Regions from separate parts of the Homo sapiens genome. Here regions 2, 3, 4, 5 and 6 are each linked to region 1. The links are contacts of gene promoters, found by promoter capture Hi-C in blood cells and fetal thymus (Javierre and others, 2016). All regions are on one chromosome and are shown on one strand. Each heading gives the region's core, a stretch centred on a gene start or on the middle of the fragment in contact. The rest is flanking DNA. Distances are from core to core; before and after follow the strand shown. Region 1 holds the start of PPAT (phosphoribosyl pyrophosphate amidotransferase). Region 2 has its middle 4.5 kb from the start of EXOC1. Region 3 overlaps EXOC1 (exocyst complex component 1). Region 4 overlaps POLR2B (RNA polymerase II subunit B). Region 5 has its middle 18 kb from the start of NOA1. Region 6 overlaps POLR2B (RNA polymerase II subunit B).

The links. Contacts are between HindIII fragments. The CHiCAGO score rates a contact against its expected background, and 5 or more counts as called.
Region 2: a contact is called between a fragment that was not itself captured here and the fragment with the promoter of PPAT in region 1, in 1 of 17 cell types (non-activated CD4 T cells). The highest score is 5.3, in non-activated CD4 T cells.
Region 3: a contact is called between a fragment that was not itself captured here and the fragment with the promoter of PPAT in region 1, in 1 of 17 cell types (neutrophils). The highest score is 6.7, in neutrophils.
Region 4: a fragment that was not itself captured here is called in contact with the fragment with the promoter of PPAT in region 1 in 2 of 17 cell types (non-activated CD4 T cells and total B cells); the score reaches 6.8 in non-activated CD4 T cells.
Region 5: a fragment that was not itself captured here is called in contact with the fragment with the promoter of PPAT in region 1 in 6 of 17 cell types (total CD4 T cells, total B cells, monocytes and 3 more); the score reaches 7.2 in total CD4 T cells.
Region 6: a contact is called between a fragment that was not itself captured here and the fragment with the promoter of PPAT in region 1, in 5 of 17 cell types (naive CD4 T cells, naive CD8 T cells, fetal thymus and 2 more). The highest score is 7.5, in naive CD4 T cells.

Annotation. Positions count from the first base shown.
Region 1 is chr4:56,434,196-56,437,617 of GRCh38, forward strand. It overlaps PPAT (phosphoribosyl pyrophosphate amidotransferase), which reads right to left and starts at 1,420. Exons shown (of 11, transcript NM_002703.5): 1 at 1,155-1,420. The coding sequence starts at 1,282. PAICS (phosphoribosylaminoimidazole carboxylase and phosphoribosylaminoimidazolesuccinocarboxamide synthase) reads left to right here and starts at 2,065. Exons shown (of 9, transcript NM_001079524.2): 1 at 2,065-2,133. The coding sequence starts at 2,118. RefSeq lists enhancers at 1,125-1,304, 2,152-3,035 and silencers at 1,395-1,594, 1,735-2,024. The HindIII fragment of the contact is 7,763 bases long and covers 693-3,422 here.
Region 2 is chr4:55,847,404-55,850,940 of GRCh38, forward strand. No RefSeq gene overlaps it. Among named protein-coding and RNA genes, the nearest start is that of EXOC1, 4.5 kb to the right of the region's middle. The HindIII fragment of the contact is 6,305 bases long and covers 1-3,537 here.
Region 3 is chr4:55,868,786-55,872,271 of GRCh38, forward strand. It overlaps EXOC1 (exocyst complex component 1), which reads left to right. Exons shown (of 19, transcript NM_001024924.2): 6 at 1,893-2,120; 7 at 2,316-2,448; 8 at 3,064-3,173. Among named protein-coding and RNA genes, the nearest start is that of EXOC1, 17 kb to the left of the region's middle. The HindIII fragment of the contact is 5,306 bases long and covers 1-3,486 here.
Region 4 is chr4:56,983,500-56,986,776 of GRCh38, forward strand. It overlaps POLR2B (RNA polymerase II subunit B), which reads left to right. Exons shown (of 25, transcript NM_000938.3): 2 at 2,855-2,927. Among named protein-coding and RNA genes, the nearest start is that of POLR2B, 6.2 kb to the left of the region's middle. The HindIII fragment of the contact is 5,960 bases long and covers 1-3,277 here.
Region 5 is chr4:56,957,724-56,961,122 of GRCh38, forward strand. No RefSeq gene overlaps it. Among named protein-coding and RNA genes, the nearest start is that of NOA1, 18 kb to the right of the region's middle. The HindIII fragment of the contact is 9,798 bases long and covers 1-3,399 here.
Region 6 is chr4:57,005,172-57,008,510 of GRCh38, forward strand. POLR2B (RNA polymerase II subunit B) reads left to right here. Exons shown (of 25, transcript NM_000938.3): 8 at 75-271; 9 at 429-548; 10 at 1,645-1,831. Among named protein-coding and RNA genes, the nearest start is that of POLR2B, 28 kb to the left of the region's middle. The HindIII fragment of the contact is 2,486 bases long and covers 95-2,580 here.

The DNA.
Region 1 (3,422 bases), core at 170-2,669:
TCTTTAGTAAACAAGGAACACACAAAATGTGAAACTGAAATTGAAGTACCTGGGACAATGAAAACAGCAAAAAATACTTCTAATTTAAGTTTGGTGGAGGAAAAGCTAATCTTTTGGAATGCGTTTATACGTGTTGCACCCATTTTGCTGTTACGTGTTATTGCCAAGTTCCTTAACTGTAGTGTAAGTTGTTACCACTGTATTGCCTTATGGAAACTGTAATACTTTCAGTAAGAATATCAAACCCAGGTTTGTTTTTCTTATCCTAGTGTAATAATTTATATCAACTTCCAGTTAAGTCAGGTAGTAAGAAAAGGAAAGATCACCGAAGCAAAGTAATTTTTTTTAACTCGAAAGGATCTCCCAATTTTTCAAAATCAAGTGTATGGATCTTGGCATAGAGACACTACTCCCCTGTCCCCCTTTTGAAGAAGGGAGTTAATTTTTGTCATGTTATTACCAACGTTTTCATTCATTAGGCAAGACGTCTACCAATGAATCTTTTCCAGATGCACTGTTCCCTATGGTTGGCTTATTTCCATTTAATTTATGTGAGATCTACTACCAGTAGTCATTCTCAACATCAACTAGTCATCTTTCCCTGGGTCTGAAGTCTAGCATCCTCAAGTTCCCATAGCGATAACTACTTTCAAACCCATAATCTGCTCAATAGCTCTGCCCTTGCAAACAAAAGCTTGTGGTGGTTGGAGGCCCCGCGCGAAAACCTTTAGGTGTTGAAGGACCTGGACTGGCCGCCACGCCACACTAGCCTATTACAGGAGCAGCCACAGGCTCCGGGAGACTAGAACCCGCCTGCAGTCGGGGAGGAGCCCTGACCCAGCTAGACCAAGCAAACCGGCGGTTTACAAGCTGGCCAGCCTCTGGATGGGTGCACACACCGGGGGGCGGGGAGGGAGAGAGCCCCTAAAAGGCATAAGTGGCTGGGAGGGTGGGCAGGACAGGCTAAAGTTCATGGAAGCGAGGTGCCCCTCGTGCACGCCTAGGCAACCCGGTCGACGCCACAGGCAGGTACTGGCTTAGGTCGGAGAGGTCGGTCCTCCCGGGCCCTCGGGCGCTCATGAGAACGCCGACTGCGGGAAGCGGCTCCGAGAGATGGAGACGCACGCCCCCGCCACCCCCACCCTGTTGCTCACCGGTGCTGCAGCCCCACGAGTCCCAGAGTGATCACATGCGGTACATCCAGCTGCGTGGGCCACTCTCCTGAGGCGATGCACCCGAACACGCCACATTCCTCTCGGATCCCCAACTCCTCCAGCTCCATGTCGCCGCCGAAAGCACGTGGAAGGACCTGCCGCTGCGGCCAAGGTGTAAGCACCAACCAGCTGCCAGCTCGGCCCGTCGAGCTCAGAAGCTCGCGCTCGCGACAGGCTCTTCCTTCCCGAGGGTGGCCCCAGCTACTGCGGCGGCGCGCGCTGTCCCTAGGTGGCGTGGCCAGCTCAGCCCTGCTCCTCCCCCTCCGAGTCCACCAACGAGCGAGGGCGGAGGGGCGGTCCCGCGGCTGAGGGGCGGGGTCACGGATGCTGTAGGGTGGAGCTAGCCTTCCCCTAAGAGCTGCCTGGAAAGCTGTATTTGCTGCACGTGGAAATCTCCGTTATTTTCCAGCACCCAACAGTAGCGTAATGGGAGTAACGGACTTAACCTCATTTCTCTTTCAGAGCATTTAGCCTTCATATGCCCTTCCCTGCATGCTTCCCCCAGGCCGTCAAGACTTGGTACGCTCCAACTTCTGAGTCGCTCCCGCAGCCGAGAAGGGGCCGGGGTATGCGAGCTTCCGCAGAGTGGGGAGGGGCCGCCAGTGCGCGCCACTTTTCGCCTGTCCGGGCACTGCGCCAGCGCGGGGCGGCCCGGAGGCGGGGTCGCGTCTCTGCGCCTGCGCGGCGGGAAGCCAGTGGGGCGTTGTTTCGTCCGATATCCGCGTTTCAGTCTCCGCCCATACCCCTCCGGGTTAGGCGGCTGTAGCGGAGCTCGAAAAGAGTGGCGCAGGGTCGCGCGGCCCCGCCTCCTTCCCCGCCCAGCGAAGCTCTCTGACCACCCCTCTTTTCTAGAGTTCTGCCTCGCTTCCCGGCGCGGTCGCAGCCCTCAGCCCACTTAGGATAATGGCGACAGCTGAGGGTGAGTAACAGGGATCCGGGCCCTTCACGGTCTCCCTGACCCCCAGGCCGTGAGCTCGCGGCCACGTGCGAGCCGCGAAACTCTGTCCCGCCTCCCTGCAGCAGCGCCTCTAGGCAGCCGCGCGGGCGCACACGTGGCCCAGGCGCTCCCGGGCCTCCCCGAACTTTACTGCCTCGGGGATGGGGAGAAGGAGCAAAGTAGAGGAGAACGAGAAATGGCCAAGGGGTGGAAAGGTGCCTGGAAGTATTATTTATAATCAATAGCTATTGCAAAATACAAGCAAATCAGTCTTGATTCGTCAAAACCTGAGTCTTGCTTTGCCCGTTAGGTTAATGACCTTTCTAAGAAGGTTAATAATTGAAACTTTTGAAAGACCTGTCTAGAGGCCGGGCCTGGTGGCTCACGCCTGTAATCCCAGCACTTTGGGAGGCCAAGGCGGGCGGATCACCTGAGGTCAGTAGTACGAGACCAGCCTGGCCAACATGGCGAAACCCCGTCTCTTACTAAAAATACAAAAAATTAGCTGGACGTGGTGGCGCGCGCCTGTAATCCCCAGCTACTCAGGAGGCTGAGGTAGGAGAATCGCTTGAACCCGGAGGCGGAGGTTGCAGTGAGCCGAGATCGCGCCATTGCACTCCAGCCTGGGCGACAAAGCGAGACTCCGTCTCAAAAAAGAAAAAGAAAAACCTGTCTAGGGGGCGTGTGTGTAAGTAGTCTTTGATGCCATGGTGTGTGTGTGTGTGTGCACGCGCGCGTGAAGTAGTCTTTGATGCCACGATAGCTTGGGGTGTGTGTACGTGCGTGTGCGTGTTTAAGTAGTCTTTGATGTCATGGGTGTGTATGTGTGTGCGCGCGCGTGTTGAAGTAGTCTGATTCCATGATGGCTGGGGAGGGGGGCTGTTTTTAGGTAGTCTTTGATGCCATGATGGTGTGTGTGTGTGTGTGTGTGTGTGTGTGTGTGTGTGTGTGTTCGTTCCAGTAGTCTTTGATGCCACGATGGCTTTGAAGAACTCCAAAACCTTTAGGCAAAAAAGTTGCACTATCAGGAAAGATTGTTCTTGCTATTTATGCTGGAAAAAAACAAATGCTGGTTTTTTCCACACACCCAGTTGCTATATGTATAGTGAGGCAAATTGCTTTTGTGGCTGCTGGGTACATTCTTTTCCACATAGAAAGTAACTGAATTCAGATTTTAAAAAGCTGTAGACTCAGGCCGGGCGCTGTGGCTCACGCCTGTAATCCCCAGCACTTTGGGAGTCCCAGGCGGGCGGATCACGAGGTCAGGAGAT
Region 2 (3,537 bases), core at 20-2,519, 590 kb before region 1:
ATCATGCTGCTATAAAGACACATGCACACGTATGTTTATTGCGGCACTATTCCCAATAGCAAAGACTTGGAACCAACCCAAATGTCCAACAATGATAGACTGGATTAAGAAAATGTGGCACATATACACCATGGAATACTATGCAGCCATACAAAATGATGAGTTCATGTCCTTTGTAGGGACATGGATGAAATTGGAAATCATCATTCTGAGTAAACTATCTCAAGGACAAAAAACCAAACACCGCATGTTCTCACTCATAGATGGGAATTGAACAATGAGAACACATGGACACAGGAAGGGGAACATCACACTCTGGGGACTGTTGTGGGGTGGGGGGAGGGGGGAGGGAGAGCATTAGGAGATATACCTAAAGTTAAATGACTAGTTAGTGGGTGCAGCACACCAGCATGGCACATGTATACATATGTAACTAACCTGCACAATGTGCACATGTACCCTAAAACTTAAAGTATAATAATAATAAAAAATAAAAAAATTAAAAAAAAAGAGATGATTTCTGCACTTCTGAGAGAATCTCCTAGAATGTGTATACGGAGTTCAGCACTGTGCATTTGTAATGACTGCCCTTTATTGTAATATCACTCTACAATATGTATATTAAATAAGGCAGCTGCATAAGAAAAGCATTGAGACGCAATGTGATTCTGCAAGCCAATCTTTGCCTTCCTTATATTTATTTGTATGTCACATTATATTACTTTCCAATAATGATGTCAAATGTGCATCTACTATCTAACTAATATTTATTTATAATATTTACTTAATTAATATTGATACAGGTAATTACCATCCTTATTTAGTGACTCCCTGACTTCCTCCCATAAAGCTACAAAGAAATGGAAAGTATCACGTGGGGATATTTACATCTATTTCTAACAAAACCTAAAACAAACACCAATTGCTTTATGTATTTAACAGTAGAGACATTTCTTCCTTGCTGCAGTTGTTAAAGATATTTAGAAAATAAAGAATCTGGGCCTAGGTGGGCAGATCACTTGAGCCCAGGAGTTTGAGACCAGCCTGGGCAACATGGCAAAACCCCATCTCTACTAAACCCCATCTCTACTAAAAATACAAAAGATCACCCAGGCATGGTGGCATGTGCTTGTAGTCCCAGCTACTTAGGAGGTTGAGGCAGAAGAATCGCTTGAACCTGGGAGGCAGAGGTTGCAGTGAGCTAACGCCATTGCACTCCAGCCTGGGTGACAGAGCAAGACTGTCTCCAGAAAAAACAGAACGAAAAAGAAAATAAAGAATCTGGGAAGTGCAGCATTGTAACTCTCATTGTCCACCCCCCACCCCCACAAAGAGTTACTTGGTGTTCTTTGTGTTGATACTAATAGTCTTACATCTCTGAAAAAAAGTTCTTCCTTTCTTAGACAGGAACATGCATCATTAAATTATAAGAAAACAATGCTAAGAAATAGGGAAGAGAAAAATCAAAGTAAGTGTCATAATAAATGTCAAATGTTTAAAATGTCACATTTCAAATTGAAATTATATAAATCTACATGATTTTAAACATTTGAACATTTTAAACATTTGAAGATCCCTTAGCTTTATACCCAAATTAAAATTAATCAGACTGATATCAAAAGACAGTTTGGATGCCAGTAAAAGAGGCATCCAAATATGAAATATGAAAGTCCACTTCCATGAAATCTATGAGTTTTCTCACTAAACAATGTCCTCAAAGCCAGTGGAGCTACCACCGATGTCATCAGAGACAGCCCTAGAGGGAGTGGGGCACTTTTGCCCTTCCTCCTTCAGGGGTTCAAGCTGAGGAAAAGGATGGTCTCCCTCCCCCTTCAAAAGGTGCAAAATGGATTCAGGTCTTGAGAAGAACATGAAGTCTTTACAATCTTCAGGCCTCTGCTTTACTGGTGCACAGTAACAAGAGCGATTTCTCTGAGGAAACAATTAACTTCTATAAATCATCAATATTTACTACTCTTCACCATTTAGAAGAGACTTTTCCCTTGGAGCTTACTAACAATGGAAAAGTTATTTCATGCTATGTAAGTATGAGATTCCCTCATATGTGATACATGTTAATATATACAGCCTTCTTTCTATGTAAAGGAAGCGGGACCTCAGAACCTCCTTGGGCAGAACCTCCTTGGGTGACTATTACATGTTTTTCAAGTAGGTAAATCTGCCCAATTTAATCTACTAAACCAATCTGCATGTAATAACAGCTACCATTTATTGAATGCTTATACTGTGTGCCAAGCAATGAGACAAGTGCTTTACAAGAAACATCTTAGCAAATATGCCCAAGATGGGATTACTATTTTTTATATACAGATGAGAAAATTGAGGCTCTGAAGAGTTAAGTAACTTGCCCTGTGGTCACTGACTCAGTAAAGGGTAAAGACCAGATTTGAACCCCTGGTCTGTGTGATTCCGAAACAGGAAAATTCCCTTATCCCCATCGCAGGGCATGCGATGGGGGTGTCACTCACTTCTTCAGTGCCCCACTGCTCAAACCTCTAGGGGGAGCATGCAGAAGGGCAGGTTGTGGGGCTCGGACTCCACGGCAGCGTATAGGGGTGAACGTTTACAGCTCCTGAAGCCCTGCTCAGCGTTTGTTACAGGGTGCTCTTTTAGTTTAGTCATCCGGATGGCTTGTGTTAGCTAGCTCAATTAGACCTCCTGCCTAATTGCAAGGAGAGGGCTTTCTGTGTCCTGAGGTTTCTTGCCTTGGTGTAACCGGAAGAATCGGATCCCACGTGAGGGCTTGGAGAATGAGTGCAAGATTTTATTGAGTGGAAGTAGCTCTCAGCAGATGGAGAAGCCAGAAGGCAGATGGAGTGGGAAGGTGGTTTTTCCCTGGAGTCGGGCTGCTCAGCAGCCCAGATCTCCCCTGACCACCTGGGGCTAAAATCTGCATCATTCTGCCGGTGGATGGCCTGCCTGTTGATGGCCTGCCTGCATCTGTTGTGTGCTCTTCCCCTGGCACGCTTCTATGCACGTCCAGCCGCTTGTGTGTTCTTCCGCCAATATGTTCTTCTCAACATCCAGCTGCTTGTGTCTCTGCCTGCTAGGGTCTCAGGGTTTTTATAGGCACAAGGCAGGGGTGTGGCAGGCCAGGGTGGTCTTGGAAAATGCAACATTTGGGCAGGAAGGCAGGAGTGCCTGTCCTCACCTAGGTCCATGGGCACAGGCCCAGTGGTGGAGCCCTAGCCAGGGCCCACGTCCTTCCCTTCCCAGCACTTCCCTGCCCCACTCCTGTGTCAATTCCAGTAATGATATACTTTTCATTATTTCATGTTGCTTCTTAAGTCTACTTCATGCAGTAGGCTGTGATGACATAAAGATATTCATTGAGAGACTACCATGGTATACCACGTGTCCTAGGACTAGACAATTTGTTCCTCAGTTTTCTGGTTTTAAAATGAGGATAATAAAGATTCCTTCCTCACAGGGTAGTTGTGATGATTAAGTTAATTAATACATGTAAAATGCTTAGAATAGTACATAGCACATAATAAGTGCTATGTAATTGTTAGA
Region 3 (3,486 bases), core at 144-2,643, 570 kb before region 1:
GCCAGAGAACATCTTGGGAGTTGATTCGCTCAGCCTCTGAAACATGTCTGAATAGTTCAGTGCCAAAGAATAGCATTTGTGTGTATGTGTGTGGTTTGAAAAAAATAAAAATAGGGATGAAGTATAAAGAGAGAAATGTGGCTGAAATATGTGAATCATTTACCAAAGAAGAGTGGAGTGAGTGTGGTGAAAACAGGAGAGCCAGAGAAAAAGATCTGTGACTTCTTTGCTAAAATGTTTTAGAATAGACCTTTTTGTTTTGTGTGCAGTTTTTGAGTGTAATTCAAATGCACAGCACCTGCTGGGGCAGTGGCTTACACCTGTAATCTCAACACTTTCGGAGACTGAGGCGAGCAGATCACCTGAGGTCAGGAATTCGAGACGAGCCTGGCCAACATGGCAAAACCACATCTCTACTAAAAAAAAAAAAATTAGCCAGACATGGTGGCATGCTCCTGTGGTCCCAGCTACTTGGGAGGCTGAGGCACAAGAATCGCTTGAACCTGGAAGACAGAGGTTGCCGTGAACTGAGATCGTGCCACTGCACTCCAGCTTGGGTGACAGAGTGACACTCTGTCTCAAAACAAAACAGAACAAAACAAAAAAATCAAACACACCGCATCTCTTATGCTAGAGTAATCTAAAATCATTTGGGTTTGTTCTGGTTTTAAGAAAAGGTAAGCATTTAAGAAATCCCTCAGAGGATAAGGAACATTTTAAAGACTTAAATTTTAGTGTTGTATACATGAAAGGTACAGAAGTTATGGGGTCTGACTCAGGCCCAGAGAGATTATATGAATAGTCCAGGCTTACAAGTTTACAGAGTTCACTGAAAGCAAAGCCTAGAAATGATTTTAAGATGTTAAGGAAGAAATCCTGGGCAGATTCAAACCCCAGCTCTGTTACTTAAGAGATGTCAGTGGCTTCTGAACCCTTCTGACTCTTAAAGTCGTATTGCACTTACATTTTATTTACTGTGGATAGTATGTAAATAACGTGTGAAACCACAGCGTCAGCTGTACAATGATATCCTTTAAATTTCTGGTCCAGGTTTTTCATCGTACCATGTTACTTGCCTTCTTAATATGGCTTAGTGATTTATATTTTTTGTTCTAATTAATATGGTATATATGTTCCAAGTCAGCATATTGCTTTGCAGTTTAATTTTGGATTTGGCAGTTTCCTTATTTCAGGGAATTCAGAATCAATAGTCAGAATCATTTAGAAAATAGTGATAAGGGGATGGTGGTTTGTTACTGCTTTGCCTGGGGAAGAAAAAAAAAACAGTTGAAAGAGAAAAGAAAAAAGATGATAGAAGGAGCTATCGGCCGTATGCTCTTCTACATCCTGTTACTAGTTCCCATCATACTACAGTTATAAATTAGTTTCATATATCCTTCAGAGTCTGGTATACCACTGCTGCTTTCTCAACTAAGATATCACATAGGTGATTATGCTTTTATTTAGGGTTTCACATAGGTGTTAAGAAAATTTCTAGCTGGTAGAATTGGAGGAAATGTTAGAGATAACATGGCCTAATGCCTCCTAAATGTATAGAAATGAGAATGTGCCATTACCAGTGATACTTTCTGGCACCTTACTTGTGCATTCTGGAACCTTACTTGTGCAGTCTGTGGAAATATAAAATCCTAAGGCATGGTCCCTAACATTGATTTAGAGGCAAGTGTACCTGCATGAAATACTGTGTAAAACATGGAAGAACATAAAGTGATAAACTGAAGTAGATGTGTAGGTATATATCAATTTTTGTTATGCTACTTTCAAGGAAATTTAGCAACATTTCACCTTTATTCTTTTACACATCTAAATAACAAGTATGTTTTTTGTTTGTTTGTTTGTTTGTTTGTTTGTTTTGGTCTTTAACTTTGTAGGCTAACATCCAGTCAATCATGGCATCTGAAAAACAAGTCAACATCCTGATGAAATTGCTAGATGAGGCTCTAAAGGAGGTAGATCAGATTGAATTGAAACTGAGCAGTTATGAGGAAATGCTCCAAAGTGTAAAAGAACAAATGGATCAGATCTCTGAAAGCAACCACCTAATTCATCTTAGTAACACTAATAATGTAAAACTCCTATCTGAGATAGAGTTCCTTGTGGTAAGTATGATCATAAATTACCAACAAAAAAAAACTAGTGATGATATATAAAACCCATTTGTAAACATTTTTTAATTTCCTTGTGAGAACAGGATTTAAAATAATTCCAAAGACCTAATGATAGGACTGAATAGCATCTTGCCTGTAAATTTCCCAAAATTACACATGCAAATGGTGTGTTTGCATATATTCTAGAACCACATGGACTTGGCCAAAGGTCATATAAAGGCCCTTCAGGAAGGAGATCTTGCTTCTTCCAGAGGCATTGAGGCCTGCACCAATGCTGCTGATGCCCTTCTGCAGTGCATGAATGTAGCTCTTCGACCAGGTATGTTCATTAGAAATGACAAAAATGTGACCAAGAATGTGAGACTAAGCCTGTAACTTGTTATAAAGGTTTTGACAAGAAATACATGAGACAAGTGGTTTAAGGGTTACATTATTAGCTATTCAAGTTTCACTGATTTCCCAACTTATTTCTATTGATACTAGGAACTTTTTTACTTCAGTTCCTCCTTCTAATTGTCCTCAATGACTATAGTCAACACCATGATCTTTATTTAGTACTATCCACAGAACCCAGCAGAAAGTAGGTGCTTTGGTTAGACGAGAGCAATTATTTCAAAACTTGAGTGTCCGTCAGAATCCCTAGAGGTCTTGTTAAAAACATAGATTGCCTGGCCCCAGTCCCAGATTCAGCAGATCTGGGCTGAGATTTTAGAATCCACATTTCTAACAGTTCCCAGGCGATGGTGAGGCAAGACCACACTTTGAGAACTACTGTGAAATCCCATTTTTCTCCTGCTTAACTTTTATCATGTAAATGAATACACCCATAAAACTTTTGGGTTCTTCAAAACGTTAGATACGTTTAATGTTCCATTAAACATCAAGGAAATCTTTTTACCCATTAAACTGGTCACAAAATGTCGTTCTGTGTCAGGCCATGACTTGCTTCTGGCAGTCAAACAGCAACAGCAGCGATTCAGTGATTTGCGAGAGCTTTTTGCCCGGAGACTGGCCAGTCACCTCAACAATGTTTTTGTTCAACAGGTAATTTTATTTTATTATTAAAACGAGCATGTTCCTATAGCTTATTTATGTATTAACCTTACATTTCCACAAAAATGTTAATATGTTTAATTGGGGTTGCAGTCAATTCCTTCACATATTTGATTTTAAGATTTTGAAATAGGAGCCTCTTTGCTCATAGATGTACTTTGGGCCTCAGCTGCCTCTTTTGGTAGACAGTCTAGTTCCTTTCAGCTGATGCTCTCTGATTCTAGAAATCAAATAACTATGCATATGAATTGCATATACTACTTAGATATTTTTATTTATAAAGTAAGTCCAAACTTGTTAGATA
Region 4 (3,277 bases), core at 580-3,079, 550 kb after region 1:
TAGCTGGGATTTCAGGGATGCGCCACCATGCCCTTCTAATTTTTGTATTTTTAGTAGAGACGGGGTTTCACCATGCTGGCCAGGCTGCTCTCAAACTCTTGGCCTTGTGATCCACCTGCCTTGGGTTCCCAAACTGCTGGGATTACAAGCGTGAGCCACTGCGCCCGGCCAGCTTTTTAAAGAAAATTTTAGAGACGGGGGTCTCGCTTTGTGGCTCAGGCTGGTCTCGAACTCCTGGGTTCAAGTGATCCTGCTGCCTTGGCCTTCCAGTGGTGGGATTACTGACATGAGCCACTGCACCTGGCCTCTGCCCAGCTTTTGGGAAGTCTTCCCTAACCTTTTCAGATCTTTGTCAGGAATATTCATATCACTTTTTTTTTTTTTTTAGACAGGGTCGCACTCTCACCCAGGCTGGAGTGCAGTGGCGTGATCTCGGCTCATTGCAACCTCCACCTTCTGGGTTCAAGCGATTCTCCTGCCTCAGCCTTCCTAGTAGCTGGGACTACAGGCAGGTGCCACCATGCCTGGCTAATTTTTGTATTTTTAGTAGAGATGGGTTTTCTCCATGTTGGCCAGGCTGGTCTCGAACTCCTGGTCTCAAGTGATCTGCCTGCCTCGGCCTCCTAAAGTGTTGGGATTATAGGTGTGAGCCAGTGCGCCCAGCCTGAAAAAAAATCTGATAAATGGATGAGTAAATGAGTCTCCTTCATGAGTTCATTTTCCTTTGTATGACTTTTAAAGTTGTTCCCAGATATCCTGCCTTCAGCCTTCCTTGTCTGTGTATAATCTCATTTTTCTCCCACCCATTTGTTAATGATTCCAACTATGTACTTTTTTTTTTTCAAATTTTAAAACGTTTATTTTATTGACACATAATAGATACACATTTGTTATATGCCAATGTATATCTATTATGTGTCACATGTTCTTTGTCTATAATGTAGACTCTTCATTTGAGTTTATATTCATATATGTGTGCCTACTAGAAGTATTTGAAGGTATTGTGATCTATAGATATCTCTAAAGCCGATCTCATCATTACCTCTCCTTTTTCCACCATCTTACTTGCTTCTCCTGTATGGCAGTGATGTTAACTTTTAATCTCTCATCAAAGCTAGAAATGTCTGAGCTATTATACATAGCTTTGTCTTTCTTACCCTTCCCTCAGGTGTAGGGATTAATAATTCCAGTCCATTTAAGAAGTATTTATTAAAAATTTATTTTGTATATGTATCAAATTTTGAACCCAGATCTCCTGAATTTCATAGGCTATATATGTGTACATTAGAATAAAAGCCAAAAATACAGCACACTTATTCTTTCCCTTAAGAAGATGGGACTAATATTAGAGGACCAGTGCACACTGATTTTTTTTTGAATGCATATTTAAATTACTGTTGCATAACTACGCTAAAATTTAGCTACTTAAAAAATTATTTTGTTATGTTCATGGATACTGTGGGTTAGGATTTTGGACAGGGCATAGCAGGCATGACTTGCCTGTGTTCCACCGTGACTCTGGTTCATTTGGGAAGACATTAAGGCCAAGTGTTGACAGCTGGGTGAGAGATGATCTGTAGTATTGACTATGTCTGACATGAGACATTAGCTTAGGAGGACTCAAGGACTAAAATTGCTAATGGAGCATCTGTAAGTGGCCTCTACTTATGGTTCGGGCTTTCTCAGTATGTAGCAGCCTCAGAATAGTGTATGTCTTTACAAAAAAAATTTTATTTTATTTTTTTAAATTTTTGAGACAGAGTCTCGCTCTGTGGCCCAGGCTGGAGTGCAGTGGCGCGATCTCAGCTCCTGCGAGGAGGCGGACCGCCCATTCCGTGCCCGGTAGCCGCGAGGGACCGGTGGTAGCCGCGAGGGACGGGCGGCGGGCTCGGTGCTGTGGCGAGGCGGGGATGGCACTCCCCCCCGCCGCCCCGTGGGGCGGCCCCGACTTTCGGGCGGTGAGTGAGAGGCGGGCCCTGCAACCTCTGTCTCCTGGGTTCAAGCAATTCTCTTGCCTCAGCCTCCTGAGTAGCTGGGATTACAGGCATGTGCCACCCTGCCTGGCTAATTTTTGTCTTTTTTAGTAGAGACAGGGTTTTGCCATATTGGCCTGGCTGGTCTCGAACTCCTGACCTCAGGTGATCCACCGACCTTGGCCTCCCAAAGTGCTAGGATTACAGGCCTGAGCCACCCCTACTTTTTAATGACAGCTCAGGGCTCCAGAAGGAAGTGTTTTAGCAAACATGACAGAAACTTCATTGCCTTTTCTGACCTGGCTTCTGAAGTCATGCAGCATTGCTTCAGCTGCATTCTCTTAAGTTACAGGAGAGTCAAAATCTACCCGATTCAAGGAGAGGGTGCATAGACCACTATATGTGATGATAGGAGTGTCAAGATCACATTATAGAAGACCATGTCGGATGGGAGATAGGCTTGTGGCCATCTTTGGAAAATGCAAACTTTCATACCTGTACATGTATGAAATGTTGCTATAATAGATTGCCCCACCTTAGGGTATTGCCCAGTTGTTGGAATCCTTCCATGGCTCTGCCCCCTTACCCTGTTCTCTGACTCTAGTGTCTGAAAATCTTGCTGATCAATAAAATGGAAAACTTAACATTCATACAACTTACATTGAACCTTTCTAATAAACCTCTTTTTATATTGGAAGAATACCTGTGTGACATAGACATAAATTATTTTATTAATGTAATTGAAATTTTAGAAAAGTGGGGTGAAAGCATTACTTATTCAGCAGAAAGTAAATATGTTTCTGCTACTTAAAGTCATAGGAGCAAGATGTTAACTAAGTGGCATCTCATTGCAAATGAGTACAATATTTTTGTTTTTACAGATATGCAATATGATGAGGATGATGATGAAATCACCCCGGATTTGTGGCAAGAAGCATGCTGGATTGTAATCAGGTAACTTTGGACCAAACTGAATTAGCCTGAAAAGGCACTTTAGATTTCCTGCTTATTCTTCTTGATAAATAGCTCTTCTATATAAATATGCTACATGAGAGTAGTTATTTTATTTATATATTTAACATTTTAAGTATTTCAGATCTAAAAGTTACACAAAGAATTCATTTAATCATTTTAACCAGATTCCGAAAATGTTACCCTGTACTACATTTCTTTGTCTTTTTCTCTTTTTGTATATATATATTTTTTTCTGAAACATGTGAGAGTAACTTGCAGATCATTTGACCCTGGGAGGTTGAGGTTACAGTGAGCGAAGGTCGCACCGCTGCACTCCAGTCTTGGTGATA
Region 5 (3,399 bases), core at 846-3,345, 520 kb after region 1:
GTGAAGCTAGGAGTTTGAGACCAGCCTGGGCAACAAAGTGAGACCCTGTCTCTACAAAAATAAAAAATTTAGCTGGGTGTGGTGGCACCTGCCTATAGTTCCAGCTACTCGGGTGGCTGAGGCGGGAGTATCACTTGAGCCCAGGAGGTCAAGGCTGCGTTGAGCTGTGATTACACCACTACACTCCAGCCTGGGCAGCCGAGTGAGACCCTGTCTCTGAAAAAATAAAACAACAACAACAAAACAAAAAACAAAAAAACCTATCTTGAACCATTCCCCTCTCACGACAAGGTCTTAATGGGGGCAGATAATATGACAGAGAGACATTCAGAGCAGGCAGAGGTGTCATCGATTTGATTCACGAGTCTGAAATCTTGTTTTTAATGTTTAAGCATTACTCTTTGACAATTGAGAGAAAACAATCCCCCTGGGAGGAGGAAAGTGGCCAAAAGAAAATGGAACAGCTGAGAAAGAATGGAAATGATTCTAATGCTCCACGACACAGAGCCAAGTGGGAGGGAAGCCAGGGTAAATGATCCGAGCCCGTCTATGAAACAGCCCGCCTCAGCTTGCGCGCTGGGTGCTTACTCAGTGAAGCAATAACAACTCTGTCATGGCTGACACAGCTGGAGCTCCTCCATGTTAGTCAGCTGCAGGAAACCAGCCTATGTCCATTGTGCAAGAAGAGTCTGAACACTAGAGACACAGGCACACAAGATTGCATCTCTACTCCGCTTCTCCTTGGTTGTTATGGGAAGTGAGTGTCTCAAGTTAAATAAACTAGACTCTGGGGAACTATACAGTAAAGACTTAGTGATCGGCACAGCTTGGCATTTATGGTGATTAAAGATACAAAACATATTACAACTTTAATTTGTCTTAGTAACTTTGAAGAAGATGTTGTTATTTTAGTTTAATTAGAGGGGGGAAAAGCAGAGGGATTACGTGTAACTTTTTAAAATAAAACTTTGAACCTAATATCACATAAAAGTCAAAAAGTACTTTGATGGAATTTATTTTACTTCTTTTGGGTGTCATGAATACAAAAGAGGTGACATGCTCAACACCACAGTGCTGCAGAGCCAGGTAAACAATCTAGAATAAACTTGCTTCATTGTTTTCTAGCAACCCCTAACCACCTCTGTGATCTGTGGAAGTGAGGAGTTGGTACTTTGCCCTTAATTTCTCCTCCCGTTCCTGGCCAGAAGAGCCCACTAATTCTTGTACCCTGTCATAGTGTAAGTGACTACTGATTCAAAAGATGTCGTTATATTCAGATTAATGGATAAAGAAGTACAGTCATGTATCGCATAATGACTTCTTGGTCAGCAATGGGCCACATATACAGCCGTAGTCTGGTAAAATTATAATGGAGTCAGAAAATACCTATTGCCTAATGATTTGTGTTACAATTGCCTACAGAATTCAGTACAGCAACATGTTGTACAGGTTTGTAGCCTAGGAGCCATAGGCTATACCATACAGCCTAGGTGTAGAGTAGGCTATACCATCTAGGTTTGTGTAAATACACTTTATGATGTTTGTCCAAAGATGAAATTGCCTAACGATGCATTTCTTAGAACACATCCCTGTTGCTAAGCAATGCACTACTGCACCAATACAGTAATGGAACTTTCTTAAAGGAAAATCTACTAGGAAACACTTGATCCTAGCAGTGATCCTAGGCTGCATTAAATTGGAGGCACAATATGGAATAAATTAATACCAGATCCCAGTAGAAGTCCTCAACTAATTCTAGGCATAGAGCATCTTTCTCACTCTTTTTGCTGGCTTTCTTTCCTGCTTTTTTTTTTTTTGAGATGGAGTCTTGCTCTGTCACCCAGGCTGGAGTGCAGTGGTGCAATCATGGCTTACTGCAGCCTCAACCTCCCAGGCTCAAGGGATCTTCCCACCTCAGCCTCCTGAATAGCTGAGACTACAGGTGGGTGTCACCATGCCCAGCTAAATTAAATTTTTTTTTTTGTAGAGACAGGGTCTTAACTATGTTGCCAGGGCTGGTCTTGAATGCCTGGCTTCAAGGGATCCTCCTGCCTTGGCCTCCCAAAGTGTTTGGATTATGGGTGTGAGCCCTGTTTTCTGAAATACATTTTCTTAAGTTGTCAGGGTGATAGTAGTCAGTTTTTAGATTGTTTCTCCACAAAGGCCCAGTTCACCCTTTGCTGGCTTTCTTTCCTGCCTGTTTTTTGTTTTAATTCTACCTAAATATCCTGGCCTAAGCTCTGAACTGTGAACTCCTGTTTTCAACCATAGGTAGAAATATAATGACCATAATTTTTTTTTTTTTTTTTGAGATGGAGTTTTGCTCTTGTGCCCAGGCTGGAGTGCAATGGCACGGTCTTAGCTCATCGCAACCTCTGCCTCCCGGGTTCAAGCGATTCTCCTGCCTCAGCCTCCCAAGTAGCTGGGATTACAGGCATGTGCCACCACACCTGGCTAATTTTGTATTTTTTTTTTAGTAGAGATGGGGTTTCTCCATGTTGGTCAGGCTGCTCTCGAACTCCCGACCTCAGGTGATCCACCCACCTTGGCCTCCCAAAGTGTTGGATTACAGGTGTGAGCCACCGCACCCAGACACAATTTTAACTTATAAAATAAATGGTATTTCATTCCCTCCAAAATAAAAACTAGAAATCAACTGCCAATCAATTTTCTCCATTTGGGAAGCTGCCGCCCTCTAGAGGTAATATGATGTTGGGGGCACTTTCCAGTTGTCACCAGGACTGACAGCAGAGGGAGTTGCTACTGCATTTAGTGTCTGGGATGAGAGATACCAGACATAATGAAATGCAGTTTTTTTGTTTTTTTTTGAGACGGAGTCTTGCTCTGTTGCCCAGGCTGGACTGCAGTGGCGCGATCTTGGCTCACTGCAGCTTCCGCCTACCAGGTTCCAGGGATTTTCCTGCCCCAGTCTCCGGAGTAGCTGGGACTACAGGCACGCGCCAGCGCAGTCAGCTAATTTTTGTATTTTTAGTAGAGACGGGGTTTCACCTTGTTGGCCAGGATGGTCTCAATCTCCTGATCTCATGATCCGCCCGCCTCGGTCTTCCAAAGTGCTGGGATTACAGGCGTGAGCCACCGCGCCCGGCTGAAATGCAGTTTTATATATAAAGAAAGAACCACCTTGCCCAAGATACCAGTAGTACTCACTTTGAAACACTATGAAAGGTCTACAACAAGTTGCATCATCTTAAAAAATTCTCCATTATATTTAATCTAAGAGGACTTAGAAGAGGACTGAGGAGTGGGGAGAAGACAGGAGAGTGTGAAATACATGGGGGCTCCCATATGTTGGGACAGAACATGGTCCTCTCAGGAATTTCATGGCTCTAACTGCGTTTCAGCCTAGCTTATCTTACCAGCATTTATTTCAACATTAGG
Region 6 (3,339 bases), core at 88-2,587, 570 kb after region 1:
ACTAAGTGACAGTTTACTCATTTTAAGGTAGCAACATGAATTTGAAAATAACTTTTATTTAAATTGTCTGATAGGTTAAACCTTCTCTCGATGAAGCTTTTGTCATCCAAGAACAGAATGTTGCACTAAATTTCATTGGTTCAAGAGGAGCAAAGCCTGGTGTTACTAAAGAGAAAAGAATTAAATATGCAAAGGAAGTTTTACAAAAAGAAATGCTCCCTCATGTTGGTGTCAGTGATTTTTGTGAGACCAAAAAAGCCTATTTCTTGGGGTATGTTAAGTTTCATTGTTTTAAGTTCTTTATCAAGATACAGTTGAGATAAAGGTTTTTCTTAGAGTCAAAAATGATGTTTTTAACATATAAATCAAAAAAAAGTCCAAAACTAAGTGTTTTCCCTCTTTCTTTCTTTCTTTTTTTTTTTTTAAAGATACATGGTTCATAGGTTACTTCTGGCAGCTTTGGGTAGAAGAGAACTAGATGACAGAGATCACTATGGAAACAAGAGATTGGATCTTGCTGGGCCGCTGCTTGCATTCTTATTTAGAGGGTAAGGAATTACAGAATGAAGTCATTAAAGCAGGGAGATTTATTTCACTTTAGATTGATCATTGCATATGGCCAGGCTAAACTGTGTTGGCATCCACGTTGGGTACTTATGAAATTAGCTACATTCTTATTGCTATTTGCTCAGATTTAGTTTTGGTTCATGTCTAGGAAAGCCAGGTTTATGAGGACAATATATTACGTGTTTATATATTTTCTTTATTCCTCTGGTAGCTTTGTAAGATGTTTGAGAAAGCTGAATTATTGCCTTGGTTTTCCTAAGGGCTAATATTGGATTTTGTCCTGCTTTGTACACATATATACAAAAGCTGGAGATAAATATATAAAAATACTGTCAGTGATTGTCTCACAGTATTGGTATTATGTGCAGTTTTTAATTTTATTCTTGATGTTTGTATATTTCCCATATTTTCTATAATTGGAAAAAAGTTATTTTTAAAAATGAAATATGTAGACAGTACAAAAAGGATAACATTAGCATTGTCTTGCACGTGTTTTGTTATTTAGTATGTTATAGATTAGTGTTTTTCAACCTTTTTTTGATATTGCCCCACTAAGGAGCCTCTTTTAACATTTTTGTTTATTGAGATGGAATTTCACTCTTGTTGCCCAGGCTGGAGTGCAATGGTGCCATCTCGGCTCACTGCAACCTCTGCCTCCAGGGTTCAAGCGGTTCTCCTATCTCAGCCTCCCAAGTAGCTGGGACTACAGGCGTGTGCCATCACACCCAGCTAATTTTTCTGTTTTTAGTAGAGACGGTGTTTCTCCATATTGGCCAGGCTGGTCTCAAACTCCTGACCTCAGGTGATCTGCCCACATCAGCTTCCCAAAGTGCTGGGATTACAGATGTGAGCCACCATGCCCCACCTCTTTGACATTTTTGTGTAGTTGCTCCCCTGCCATGTATGTTCACGTACTATACATATATCTGTGCTTTAGACATAAAAGAGCAACAACTTTCACTCTGCCCAAACAATTTTTGCTCACCTTCCCCACGCTTTTTTTTGCAATATTCCTCCTGTTGAGAATATATGTTGTAGACCTCTACATGTTTAAAATAATACCATTTTATTCGGCAGTATGTTTAAGAATTTGCTTAAAGAAGTGCGGATCTATGCACAGAAATTTATTGATCGAGGAAAGGATTTTAACTTGGAGTTGGCAATTAAAACACGGATCATATCTGATGGCCTAAAATACTCTTTAGCTACTGGAAACTGGGGTGATCAAAAGAAAGCTCATCAAGCCAGAGCTGGAGTATCTCAGGTAAGTGTGCCAACTATGACTACAGGCTCAATAGGAAACATGTTTATAGGACTAGTAGATTCTTTTGTTTGTTGAATATAAATTATTTTGCTTTTCTTTCTTGGTCAAAGGTAAAACTACTGGGTGCCGGGTGTGGTGGCTCACACCTGTAATCCCAGCACTTTGGGAGGCCGAGGTGGGCTGGATCACCTGAGGTCAGGAGTTTGAGACCAACCTGGCCAACATGGCGAAACCCCATCTCTATTAAAGATACAAAAATTAGCTGGGCATGGTGGTGGGTGTCTGTAATCCCAGCTACTCTACTTGGGAGGCTGAGGCAGGAGAATCGCTTGTACCTGGGAGGTGGAGGTTGCAGTGAGCTGAGATCATGCCACTGCACTCCAGCCTGGGCAAAAAGAGTGAGACTCCGTCTCAAAAAACAAAAAAAAAAACTTACTGGGGACTTTTGAATTATGAACATGAAATTTTCTTAAATTAGCTATTAGTATTACTAAGATAGATTTTTGGCTTGCAGTTTAGAAACTCAAAGTAATTAAAAAATTAGAGTAGCTGCTTAGTGGGTGAGACAGTCCATGTTAGTGAAATTTTTATGTCTTAAAAGCTCCACATTAGAAGCCAACTAAGAGATAAAAATGGTCATCGCCCTCCTTTGTTGGAAAATACAGTACTTCTGACACTGGTTTCTATATGTTGGTCTGTTGCATATATAATGACTGCAGTAGCTATTCTCAGATGGAGTAATGGAGAAAAGCTTTTTAAAGAGTGTATCACTGGGCATTTTAATTTTTTGTATTTGCTTTTCATAGATGATTGAAAACCTGTAATGTACTTTATGCCATTTTTAGGGGGATCTCCCCCTCCTTTCCTTGTTTAAACTGGCCTATACCAGTATCACCTGATTGATTTGGCATTCGGACACCAATTTCAAGCTCCTTTTTCCTAGAAATCTGGATGCTGTAAGAAATTTTGAGGGGCTACTGATAGCAAAGTTAATATTTAAATTCCTTGTAATTCAGTAAGGATTTATTGGGTATATTTGATATTTGTGATACTGAGTTCACACACATGAATGAGATGCTGATCTCAGCCCTCAGGGAGCTCATCAGCATCTAGCAGAGGAAACAGATTCATTCATGTGTAGCTCACTATGCCCTGTGCTGTGTTATGACAAATGCCACATTGCAAATTCAGTTCAAGGAATTGGTTTTTTTTTTTTTTTTGAGACAGAGTCTTGCTGTCTTGCCCAGGCTGGAGTACAGTGGCAATCTCCGCTCACTGCAAGCTCTGCCTTCTGGGTTTACACCATTCTCCTGCCTCAGCCTCCCGAGTAGCTGGGACTACAGGCGCCCGCCACCACGCCTGGCTAATTTTTTGTATTTTTAGTAGAGACGGGGTTTTGCCGTGTTAGCCAGGATGGTCTCGATCTCCTGACATCGTGATCTGCCCGCCTCGGCCTCCCGAAGTGCTGGGATCACAGGTGTGAGCCACCGTGCCTGGCCCAGTTCAAG